2 separate regions of the Homo sapiens genome follow, and region 2 is linked to region 1. The links are contacts of gene promoters, found by promoter capture Hi-C in human tissues and cell types (Jung and others, 2019). All regions are on one chromosome and are shown on one strand. The core of a region is centred on a gene start or on the middle of the fragment in contact, and the rest is flanking DNA. Distances in the headings are between cores, read along the strand shown.

Region 1 (5,815 bases), core at 3,175-5,674:
GTTCACATTCTGTCTCTACAACTTAGTACAGCAAATTATTTAATCTCTCTGTCCCTCCTTTCCCTTATCTATAAAATGGTGATAAGTAATAGTATGTATTTTGTAGGGTGGTTATGATTAAGGAATATAAATCAAATAAAGTGATTATTATACTACAATGCCTTATTCATTGAATACCTTTATAAAACCTACTCATGATAGAAAATACTATTAGAAATGCTGTTTGAAATTGGTTTTATAGCATATATGAATTTAGAAAAAAAACTTACATAACTTTTACAGAAAAAACTCAGCTCTAGGTAGATATAAAGTCCTATGTAGATACTTTGTGGAATGAGCTTGTTTCTTAGCATTTTATCTGACATGACTTCAAAGTTTCAGCTTCATTTTTTTTTTTTTTTTTTTGAGATGGAGTCTCACTCTGTCGCCCAGGCTGGAGTGCAATGGAGCGATTTTGGCTCACTGCAACCTCCGCCTCCCGCGTTCAAGCAATTCTCCTGCTTCAGCCTCCCGAGTAGCTGGGACTACAGGTGTCCACCACCACGCCAGGATAATTTTTGTATTTTTAGTAGAGACAGGGTTTCACCATGCTGGTCAGGCTGGTCTTAAACTCCTGACCTCGTGATCCGCCTGCCTGGGCCTCCCAAAATGCTGGGATTACAGGCATGAGCCACCACACCCGGCCCAGTTTCAGCTTCATCGTAATTCTAATTTCCACTATGCTTCCTGACCTAGCATACCTTTTCAATCAAACTTCTTATCTCTAAGTACAGCAACTTATTTTAAACTGGCTCTTTGGTTTCATTTTAGATGGTGTCTCCAATATGGATGATAAACTAGAAAGAGTTCTGGTCAGGCAATCTGGATAGAGAAGCCAAGCAACATTGTAGCTTCTAAAGTCATTTTCACACTTATATATAAAACACTCGAATTTATATAAAAGATACATTAAAGAAACAATGATTAAAAATATATAACCACTACACTCCTTCATTAATAGAGATAATTAAGTTGAACATACTTAAGAATACATTGCTTTTGTGAGGATTAAAATCTAATGTTAAGCTACCAATTCATATTCACCTGAATCTTATTTAATAATAAATTAATACTCATGAATGACATTATTAACTGTCAGTGTGATGATGTTCAAGCTATTTCAGTTACCCAGACAGGTCTATAACTTACTCTAAATTTCTGGCACTTACATGCACACACACAGACAAATCCACAGTTGATTAACATTAAACAGAAACTTCACTCTCTATACTTCTCAGGAAAGGAAAAGCTCAAAAGTTATATTTCATGGCTACTGAACAAGTTTAGGCTTTCAAACGAGATTCTTTCCATTGATTCTGTAACTTATCCAATCACTCGAGCAAAATGTTGAATTTCTACTAAGTAAAAGGCACATGTTTCAGGACACAAATTATATCAATTTCAAATATAATTGAGGCAGCCTAAGGCGTATATGTAGGTCCCAGGGCAAATTATTTGGACTGTCTGAACTTTAATATTCTTATCTATAAAATAGCGGTGATAATAACTATCCTACACCAACGATTTATTACTAGGATCAAATGAGGTACTAAAACATGGAACAGAAAAGCATTTTCAAATATTAAATCCACAGTAAGTTTCTATAACAACTCAAGAGCTCATCTTGTCTCCAGAAGCACAATAACAGTCTGTTTCATTACATGATTAATGTAACAAATATTTAAGAGTCTAATACATCATGATGTGTTCAAGTACTAAAGTGCTTTAAAAATGTAGTAAGTACAGGCTGGGCGCGGTGGCTCATGCCTGTAATTCCAGCACTTTAGGAGGTGAGGTGGGTGGATCACTTGAGGCCAGGAGTTCAAAACCAGCCTGGCCAACATGGTGAAACCCCCGTCTCTACTAAAAATACAAAAATTAGCTAGGTGTGGTGATGCACGCCTGTAGTCCCAGCTACTCGAGAGGCTGAGGCAGAAGAATCTCTTGAACCTGGAAGGCAGAGGTGGCAGTGAGGCGAGAGGGTCACGCCACTGCACTCCAGCCTGCGTGACAGAGCAAGACTCCATCTCAAAAAAAAAAAAAAAAAAAGTAGTAAGTACAAATGCTTTCCTTAGGAAGCTTACATTACAGTAGGGATAATAGAACTCTCAAATTACAATGCAAATTTAACAAGTGTTGTAAGATTTATAAAGCCCAGCACACATGAAGAAAAAAAAATGGGCTGGGCGTAGTGGCTCATGCCTGTAATCCCAACACTTTGGGATGTCGAGGCAGGTGGATCACCTGAGGTCAGGAGTTCAAGACCAGCCTGGCCAACATGGTGAAACCCCGTCTCAACTAAAACTACAAAAAAATTGGCTGGGTGTGGTGGCGGGCACCTGTAATCCCAGCTACTTCAGGAGGCTGAGGCAGGAGAATCGCTTGAACCCGGGAGACGGAGGTTGCAGTGAGCCGAGATCGCAACATTGAACTCCAGCCTGGGCAACAAGAGCAAAACTCTCTCAAAAAAAGAGAAAAAGAAAAAGAAAAAAAGAATGAACTGGATTTATGGCAGATTTCAGAAAGCTGCATAAGAAAGAGATGGCATTTAAGGAATTGAAGAATAAGTAGAATTTCTACAAAGACAGCAAGGAAGGCCTTCCTTGTTTCTTCTTTGTAGGAAGAAATGATAAAAGCAAACACCAAGGCTGACAGGCATATAGCATGTTCAGAAACTGGACGTCTAATTAACGACTAGTTTGGCTAAAAAATAGGATATGTGGAAAAAAGTAATACTTGTTTAATAAAAGGAAAAAAGAAAGAATCATATTGGGGGCCGGGTGCGGTGGCTCACGCCTGTAATCCCAGCACTTTGAGAGGCCGAGGTGGGTGGATCACGAGGTCAGGAGATCGAGACCATCCTGGCTAACATGGTGAAACCCCGTCTCTATTAAAAATACAAAAAAATTAGCCGGGCGTGGCGGCGGGCGCCTGTAGTCCCAGCTACTCAGGAGGCTGAGGCAGGAGAACGGCATGAACCCGGGAGGCGGAGCTTGCAGTGAGCTGAGATTGCGCCACTGCACTCCAGCCTGGGCGACAGAGCGAGACTCCGTCTAAAAAAAAAAAAAAAGAATCATATTGATTTTACTGGAGCCACCGTCAGACTCAAATTCTGAAGGAAAAATCTGAAGCCTCCCTAAATAATATAAAATTTATTAAATGCCTCCCTAAATAATTTACATTTTATTCTGAAGCCGATCGAGAGTCACTGCGTATTTCTGAGGAAGGAATAACCAAAAAAAGAAAGTCATAAGATCTTTGGCTTTAAAAGTAATATGGAGGCAAGTGACTGGAAGGGTGCCAGGCTGAGGACAAGTCCAGTTTGGAAGTTATTGCTATAGTGCAAGTAAGAAGAGGAAAGACGAGCATATTTAGCAGACAGGTAGTGGGAATGAAAAAGGGGAGAACTAAATTTGAGATGCTGAAGAGATAGAATCAACAGTTGGGAGGAAAGTTAGCCTCAGAAATATAAGTTTACAAGTCATTCCCTTGAAACACCCTGAGTTTACCAGTGAAAGTGAATAAGAACACCAAGTAAGAAACTGCACCAAATTTCATCTTTAACTACTAAAGTCGAATGTTGATTTCAAAAACGAAAAGACTTAATTTTCAAATACTGCATTTAAGAGAACATAATAAAAGATCGTCTTTTACTATAAAGCAATGCACCCACACACCTGTTCTGATGAGAATCTCACCCCACTTCAAACAGTCCTTGTGTTCTTACTAGCCTTACCAAGGGCAGCCTTTCCATTTCTTTAAGTTCCTGCGGCTTCTTGAGCTCCAGGTGCTGGTCGGGTGCATCTGTGCCTACCACAGGGCTCAACACCGAGCGAGAGCTCATGGGATGTTCACTGAAGGAATGACGGGCCCCAGCCGGGCCCACCCGTCACTAGCTCCGCACGCACCAGGCGCTGAGGCACACACTGCCGTCTTCATTCGCTTGACACACCCCTCTCCTCGGGCCTTTTTTCCTCCTCCACCCAGTACATTCCGCACGTCGTCCGTCGGAGTTACAACGTGTCACCTCATCTGCTCCCACCCCTACTTAGCTAGCACTGTATTTCAGGTCTTCGATACCGTCCCCTTCACCCCTACAGACTTCACATCAGCCCCCTCGCATGCCTCCTCTTCCTCCTCCTCCAGGAGCTTCCCGGGCCGCCCCGCAGCCGCTAGCCTCCTGGTTCCCGCCCCTCCCCAGGTGCGCTGAGGACTCACCTCCCGCGCAGCTCGACCGGCTGAGCCCACCACCGGGGGCCGCGGTTCAGCTCCGCCGGGCGCCCCAGGCTGCCGAGTCCGCTGGGTCCTACGCGACCGCTGACCCGCAGCGCCGCCGGCTCCCGTCGCCGTAGCCACCGCCAGCTCGGTGCAGCCCAGGCGTTTCCGGGTTCCCGCGGTCCCGTCCCCCAAATGCTCCGGCTTCCGCCTCGGCTCTGGCAAATGCCGTTCCCGGCTCGGCTCTGGCAGCCCCAGCTCGGCACTTGGCAGCTCTGTCCCTAAGGCGACGCACCTGGGCTGCTCTGCTGGCAGCCCCTGGTTCCTGCTTCACCGTCGCGTGGAGGCCTGGGGCACTGCTTTCTGCTACACCTCTCCTAGGAGCGCGAAACAGATGGAGTGACACTCGTCGAGGGCCTCTGCGGGACTGTCTGTTTGCAGAGGGTGCCAAGGTGTCCACTGCGTAAGGAAGGGCAAAGTCCTTTGGGGCAAAGAACCCTGAGAGGAACGGGGAGATGGATTTTGAAAGCAAACGAACCCTCTCCTAAAAGTGACTGTCACTGACCTGAAAACAACCAGATTAGCTATGGCAAAGGCTGCCAACCAACCAGTGGTCTGCAAGAAGGCTTGTTCTTCCACTTCACCCACCCTGACTGAGATCTTGAGACTGAAGGAAACCCAAAGCCGTACCACCAATGGGCCTAGTGTCATCAACCGGGAGAGGAAAAAGAAAACTGGGCCCAGAGGATTGCAGAGTTATGAGGGACCAACCCCTTCCTGGCTGCATGGATCACAGCATTACCTTTTAAAAGTGTTCCAGTAGCTGTGTTGGAAACCCTCTAACCACGGCAGCCCATTCAGGTGATGAACAGGCTGAAATCAGTACTTCAGGTTCAGCTGGATTATCAAATAAGCGAATAGGATTATCTCTTTTTGTTAACTCAGGGCTGCTATAAATTAAGCCTATGTCTCTTTATATTGCAAATGATTAAAACCATGTCCAAGAGAGACATACTTAGAAAAAAAGTGATATTGAAGAAAAATAAGTAACTGTATTAGAGTAGAATAACTGGTTTTAAAATTTTCTGCAATACAGTCTTGAGAAAATTCCTGGATGGTAAAATACATATTAGATCTTAATACATGCCCAGTTTTTTTTGAAACCAAAATGTGCCTGTTAGATGATGATAACAGCATGCCTCGTTTTATTGTGATTTGCTTTATTGCTCTTCACAGACATTGCTTTTGTTTTTTTGTTTTTTTTTTTTACAAATTGAAGGTTTGTGGCAACCTTGCCTCAAGCACATCTATTGGTGCCATTTTTCCAACAGCATGTGCTCACTTTGTGTCTCTGTGTCACATAATATTCAATAATTTTTGCAATATTTAAATTTGTTCATCATTATTATATCTGGTATAGTGCTTTGTGATCAATGATCTTTGATGTTACTATGGTAATTGTTTTGGGGTGCTGATATGGTTTGGCTGTGTCCCCACCCAAATCTCAACTTGAACTGTATCTCCCAGAATTCCCACGTGTTGAGGGAGAGACCTAGGGGGA
Region 2 (6,226 bases), core at 2,324-4,823, 36 kb after region 1:
CCTAAATCTCCCGGTTTTTCAGGTACTTTTCTTCCTGTGATGCCACCACACATGTAATCAATTTATATACCTTTTCTCTTATTAATTTGCCTGTTGTTAGTATGTTTCAGAGGCTGAGTTATTGAACTCTCAGAGGGTAGAGAGGGAAAGTCTTCACTTTTCTACAATTAAGTAGATCAATTTAACTTCTAAGGATAAGTCTGTCTGTTTTTCCCATGTTTTGAATTTTGAATCATAATGACCTGAGATCCCCAATTAAGGAGAAATGGGAAACAAATATCTGTATGATAATCTATAACTGTTTTCTTTTATACACAAATCTCAATGTCATGAATATAAAAGTAATGCTTGATTTGGAGTTCCTTTACATTTATTATTCAAAAACACCCACATGGCCGGGCACAGTAGCTCATGCCTATCATCCCAGTGATTTGGGAAGCTGAAACAAGAGAAACGCTTGAGTCTAGGAATTTGAGACCAGCCTGAGCAATAAAGCAAGACCCCATTTCTACAAAAAATTAAAAAATAAAAAAAAATTATCTAGAAATGATGGCATGTGCCTATAGTCCTAGCTACTCAGGAGGCTGAGGCAGGAGGATTACTTGAGCCCAGGAGTTTGAGGCTACATTGAGCTATGATTGCAACACTGTACTCCAGCCTAGGCAACAGAGCAAGACCCTGTCTCAAAAAAAAAAAAAAAAAAAGAAAAAAAAAAGAAATATGGTCAATATTGGTCCAAAAGGAAAGGAAATTTTCATTTCTGAGAAAAAAAAATATACGTATATATTTTTGAGACGGAGTTTCGCTCTTGTTGCCCAGCTGGAGTGCAATGGTGCGATCTTAGCTCACCACAACCTCTGCCTCCAGGGTAGGAAGGAAGTTATGGCAACCAGCTGGTAAATGCATTTCCAAGTTAAATGTCAATAAAACATAGCACCTATGAACAATTTTTGGAATTTTAAACATGTTAGATCAGGAAGCAGTCTTTAACACACAGCATGTAGCCTTTCCACCATCTGACTTACTTTTGTCAAGACATTAGATTGTGTAGTAGTCTTGGGTTTGATGCTGTGGCTCTCACAGGCCTGTTGAATGGTTTGATGGATTTGGCAGAAGTTTGACCTCCAGTGTTCCATGTAAAGTGTACTCCATTTCTAAGTGTTGCAGGATTTTTCTCAGCCACTTTGCTGACTGAGGACATCCACAGCTGGTGCTGCCCCCTGACTGCCTGGGCCTTGCTTGGCCCTGGGCCTGCTGCTGGAGGCACCCTGCCCACTCGGCCTGCTTGTGTTATGACTTATACCCGCATTAGGCAGTTCCCGAGCTCTTCTCCTGCATCCAAGAAGAATGAGGATACACTGACAATTTGAAGGGTGAAGAGGGTGAACAAGAATTTTATTGAGTGATGGAAAAGCTTTCAGTGGGGAGGGGACAATGGGGGTGGTCCCCCATCCTTGCAGTCAGGTGGTTTCTCTCCCAGTGTGGCTGAGTCCAGGGCTTTTATGGGCTCAAAATAAGGGAGTGTGTGCTGATTGGTTTGTGAGTATGCAAAGAAAGGCACCACTCAAAGGTGGGCATGGCAGTGTAGAAAACCAATTAGGAAAGGGTAGGTATATGTAAAGTAGGTGAAGCTTGGGGATCAGAGAAAAGCATGTCAAATGGGAAGACAGGTTCTCAATCTGGTCCATGGATTTGACTTGTAGCTTGGTTTTCAGGCTTTAAACTGTCTTCTGCTTGGAGGTAGGGTTTCACTGAGGACCTGTCCCTATCTGCTTAGGCATTTGTCTGCCTCCTGCCTCTATCATAAGGGCATTCTGAGTCATTTATGTCATGTCATTAGGTAGTGGTTGAATGAGAGTGAGTACCTTAGTAATGCATCCAAGAATAGGATGAGTCTTAGGGCCCCATGTAAAGAAAAATATATTAGGTTTTAGTAAATTCTAACCAGGAAACTTCTCAAAAAGAGTAGTGGCCCTTTTGATGCTTTAAACCAAGCTTAAACTCTCGCTGCTGCTTCAAAGCCATGTCTTTTTGCTTTCAATATAACCAATTATTCAGCCAATTATTAATGTGGTGAATATTCATTTTACTGAAAGATAGAAGTAATTTTGGAGATTATAAAGGTAATACTGAGATATAAAAGTCACTTATTTTGTGTTTTAAATATTAATGTATTCTAGTACAGGGTTTCTCAACCTCAATACTGTTGGCATTTTGGGCTGCAATAATTTTTTACTGTGAGGACCTGTCCTATGCTGTATAGGATGTTTAGCAACACACTAGAGGCAAGTAGCACTCTTCTGCTGTGACAATTAAAATTGTCTCCAGATATTGGTAAATCTCTCCAGAGAGGCAATTTATTAATTTTGTTTTATTAATAGAGATAGGGTCTTGCTCTGTCACCCAGGTTGGAGTGCAGTGGTGTGATCATAGCTTACTGTAACCTTTAACTACTGGGCTCAAGCAATCCTCTAGCCTCAGGCTTCTGAGTAGCTAGAACTACAGGCAAATGTCACCACACCTGGCTAATTAAAAAAATTTTTTTGAGACAGGGTCTAGTGATGTTGCTCAGGCTGGTCTTGAACTCCTAGCCTCAAGGGATTCTCAGCTTGGCCTCCCAAAGTGCTGGAATTACAGGCATGAGCCACCACACCTGGCTGAAAATCACTGTTCTAATGGAATAATCCATCTTATATGAATGCTATTTTTAAATTGGTATTTTTAGACAGATTGTTTCACTTAATTCTTAGATTCCTGTGACTATTCCTTTCCTGAGATATGAGAGTATTCATTCTCATATCTCGAGATTCCTAAGGTATGATATTCATTTTATTTGTAAGTCATTTAATTCTTGTGAACCTCAGTTTTCATGTACATGAACACAGAGCTAGAAGTGTTACACCTGGAACTTTTCCCTTAGAACAAATTAATTCTCATATGATACATAATGAAATAATTGTATACCTGTTGAAAATGAATATCTGGGTATGAAATTGTTATCTGTATATGATCACAGGTTTGTAAACATTTTGTATAAAAGGCAAAAAAGGCAAGATGACAGAAAATATTTGATTTATTTTGGTAGTCAAACTTGTTGGCTTCAGAATCCTGACTTCCATTGATGCAGTGGTCTCAACCCTAACAGTTAATTAGACTCCCCTAGGGGGCTTGAAAGTTATTAGTGCTGGATTCCTATCTCCAAGGATTTGGATTTGAGGAAAGAAAAAGCAGAAAGGAATACTGCTTAGTTAAAAAGGAGAATGTCTCACCAGGCACCAGTACACTGCCATTCATTGCCTTTTCTTTCTCTCATTCTCTTCTAAAACGAGGTAAAGAAGATAAAATTTGGGAACTTAAAACTTGGCAAAGAAGGAAATCCTTTTGGCAATATCATAAAGTGAGTGTCTATTTTCCTACCTTGCAGAGGGGAACCTAAAACTCAGATTTTATCTCCTTTGTGGGTTCCTCTTCTTCACCTGCTCATGAAATGGAAGTTTCCTGAACATCATTTCAGAAATGAGGACATTAGTAATTTTCTGTTACTGGATCTTTTTATTAAAATCACCCTTGATGTACATAATTTAATAGAAATATACATCTCTTTGGCTTCTTAAGAACAACCAGAGCCAGATGTCTTGAAGGCAGAAATGTCCCTGTGTTTTCCTAATACGGACCAGTATTTCTTTTTTCTTCTCTAGGTTCAATTTTTAATTTCATGTAATTTTATTTTAAATTTTTATTTATTTATTTATTTATTTATTTGGAGGCAGCGTCTCGTTCTGTTGCCCAGGCTGAAGTGCGGTGGCCTGATCTTGGCTCACTGCAAACTCTGCCTCCCGGGTTCAAGCTATTTTTGTGTTTCAGCCTCTCAAGTAGCTGGGATCACAAGCCTGTGCCACCAAGCCTGGCTAATTTTTGTATTTTTAGTAGAGATGGGGTTTCACCATGTTACCCAGGCTGGTCTCAAACTCCTGACCTCAAGCAATCCACCTGCCTTTTGCCTCCCAAAGTGTTGGGATTACAGGCGTGAGCCACTGCACCTGGCCTATTTTTTTTATTTTCATCAAAGCTTCCTTGCCCACAGTATTAAGAGATCTGTAAGTTTTGTTCCCCAAACACCAGTTCACCCAGTCAGCCCCAACTTCTACTGATCTTTCATGTTCTTCCAGCCATTTCATATCTGAACTGATTGTTTTGGGTATTACCTGCATGTTGCTATGTAACATGTTTATATTGCTATTTCTTGTTTTTTTCTTTTTTCAATTTTAGGCATTACTTATTGACTTTTATGGAAGATGTCCATTTAATTATCTTTCACACACACCTTCCCATTCCTCCTAGCCTCTACGGCAAACACATTTTCCATCCCCAGTCCAGTCAGTATAACTTCATCATAACTTTGCTATAATAAAAATTCACCATTTATGGTACTAATAACTCTTTTAAGTTTTATTAACAGCTGAGCCATATGGTATACTTTAATTACCTTTCCTTTTCTGCAAAACGTTATTTCCTCTATTGTTAAATATCTATTTTTGTTATTGCTTGCTTAGTTTTCTAAGTACTTAGGAACAATCTAGCCCTACTTCTTTACCTAGGAATCCTCTTAAAAGTTCAAACGCACTAGGTATCCCATCAATTTTAATGACTTAGAGAACCCTCTTCCTTGGATAGCTCCAATCTGCACTGGTTGATCTCTAGGTCCACTCTACAAATGTCACCTTGAGATCTCCCTTCAACATCATCCTGGCTCCCCTGGGAAAGTTCTTGAACTTTATTGTATAATTCTTTGTTTCTGCTGGAGTTTTCAATATCTAAGAGCTCTTTTTATGTCCCCAGGTGTTCCTTTTTTAACAATAGCATCCTGTTCTTGTTTCCTGAATGCAATATCTCCTCCTATACCTTAGAGGATATTAATCATAGTTTTTCTGATATTTTCTTCTCTCTGCATCTAACTTTTTAAAAAAGCTTTATTGGGCCGGGAGTGGTGGCTCACCCCTGTAATCCCAGCACTTTGGGAGGCCAAGGCGGTGGATCCTGAGGTCAGGAGATCAAGACCATCCTGGCTAACACGGTGAAACCCCATCTCTACTAAAAACACAAAAAATTAGCCAGGCATGGTGGCGGGTGCCTGTAGTCCCAGCTTCTTGGGAGGCTGAGGCAAGAGAATGGCGTGAACCCGGGAGGTGGAGCTTGCAGTGAGCCGAGATCGCAGCCTGGGCGACAGAGCCAGACTCTGTCTCAAAAAAAAAAAAAAGTGGCCAGGCGCGGTGGCTCACGCCTGTAATCCCAGGACTTTGGGAGGCTGAGGCGGGTGGATCACGAGATCAGGAGATCAAGGCCATCCTGGCTAACACAGTGAAACCCCATCTCTATTAAAAATACAAAAAATTAGCTGGGAGTGGTGGTGGGCGCCTGTAGTCCCAGCTGCTCGGGAGGCTGAGGCAGGAGAATGGCGTGAACCCGGGTGGCGGAGGTTGCAGTGAGCCGAGATCGCGCCACTGCACTCCAGTCTGGGCTACACAGTGAGACACCGTCTCAAAAAAAAAAAATAAGTTTTATTGAAATTAATTTCCTTACCAAAAAGTTCACCCATTTAAAGTATATACATGAATGATTTTTAGTAAATTTTCAAAGTTATATAACAAAAACCAAAATCTAATGGTAGAACATTTCAATCATCCCCACAAAAAAGCTTATGCCCAACTGCAGTCACTCCCTCTTCCCTTCCCATTCTAATCCCCAGGCAACCATTAATCTGCTCTTTGTGTCTATGTATTTGCCTTTCTGAATGTTTCATATAAACCCAAAATGAAGAATATTCTTTTGGTAAGAGGTGGGGTAACTTTTTTTCTTCAAAAATGTCATAAATGACAAAGAAATATTGTGGAAATATTCCTGATTAAAGGGAACTAAAGAGATGACAATTGCATGCCACACCTGATCTTAACTGGACCCTGTACTCGACGGAAAATAAGCTATGGAGGACATTATTCAGTGAACTGACAACACTGAAATTAGAAGGTGTATTTGATGAAAGTTTCATCAATGTTAAATTTACTGGAGTTAACTGTACTGTGCGTGTGTGTGAAGAGGAATAATTAAGAAAATAAGACAGATGGGGTAAAATGTGAGCAATAAATAGTTTTCAAAAACTCTCAGTCATTGTTATCATTTTCCTTGATTCTGAGACTCCAATTACAAGTGTGTGAGACTGTTTGACACT

Evidence for each region. Contacts are between HindIII fragments. The study calls those that stand out against the background at their distance.
Region 2: a fragment that was not itself captured here is called in contact with the fragment with the promoter of SLC35A3 in region 1 in 1 of the 25 tissues and cell types used here (pancreas).

What each region holds. Positions count from the first base shown.
Region 1 is chr1:99,968,605-99,974,419 of GRCh38, reverse strand. SLC35A3 (solute carrier family 35 member A3) reads right to left here and starts at 4,424. Exons shown (of 8, transcript NM_012243.3): 1 at 4,258-4,424. The region is part of intron 1 of LOC124904230 (a long non-coding RNA gene); the gene reads left to right. RefSeq lists enhancers at 3,975-4,064, 4,785-4,834, 4,895-4,944 and a silencer at 4,185-4,384. The HindIII fragment of the contact is 9,355 bases long and covers 187-5,815 here.
Region 2 is chr1:99,931,327-99,937,552 of GRCh38, reverse strand. It overlaps LOC124904230 (a long non-coding RNA gene), which reads left to right. Exons shown (of 7, transcript XR_007066251.1): 5 at 3,336-3,397. Among named protein-coding and RNA genes, the nearest start is that of SLC35A3, 36 kb to the left of the region's middle. The HindIII fragment of the contact is 3,519 bases long and covers 1,814-5,332 here.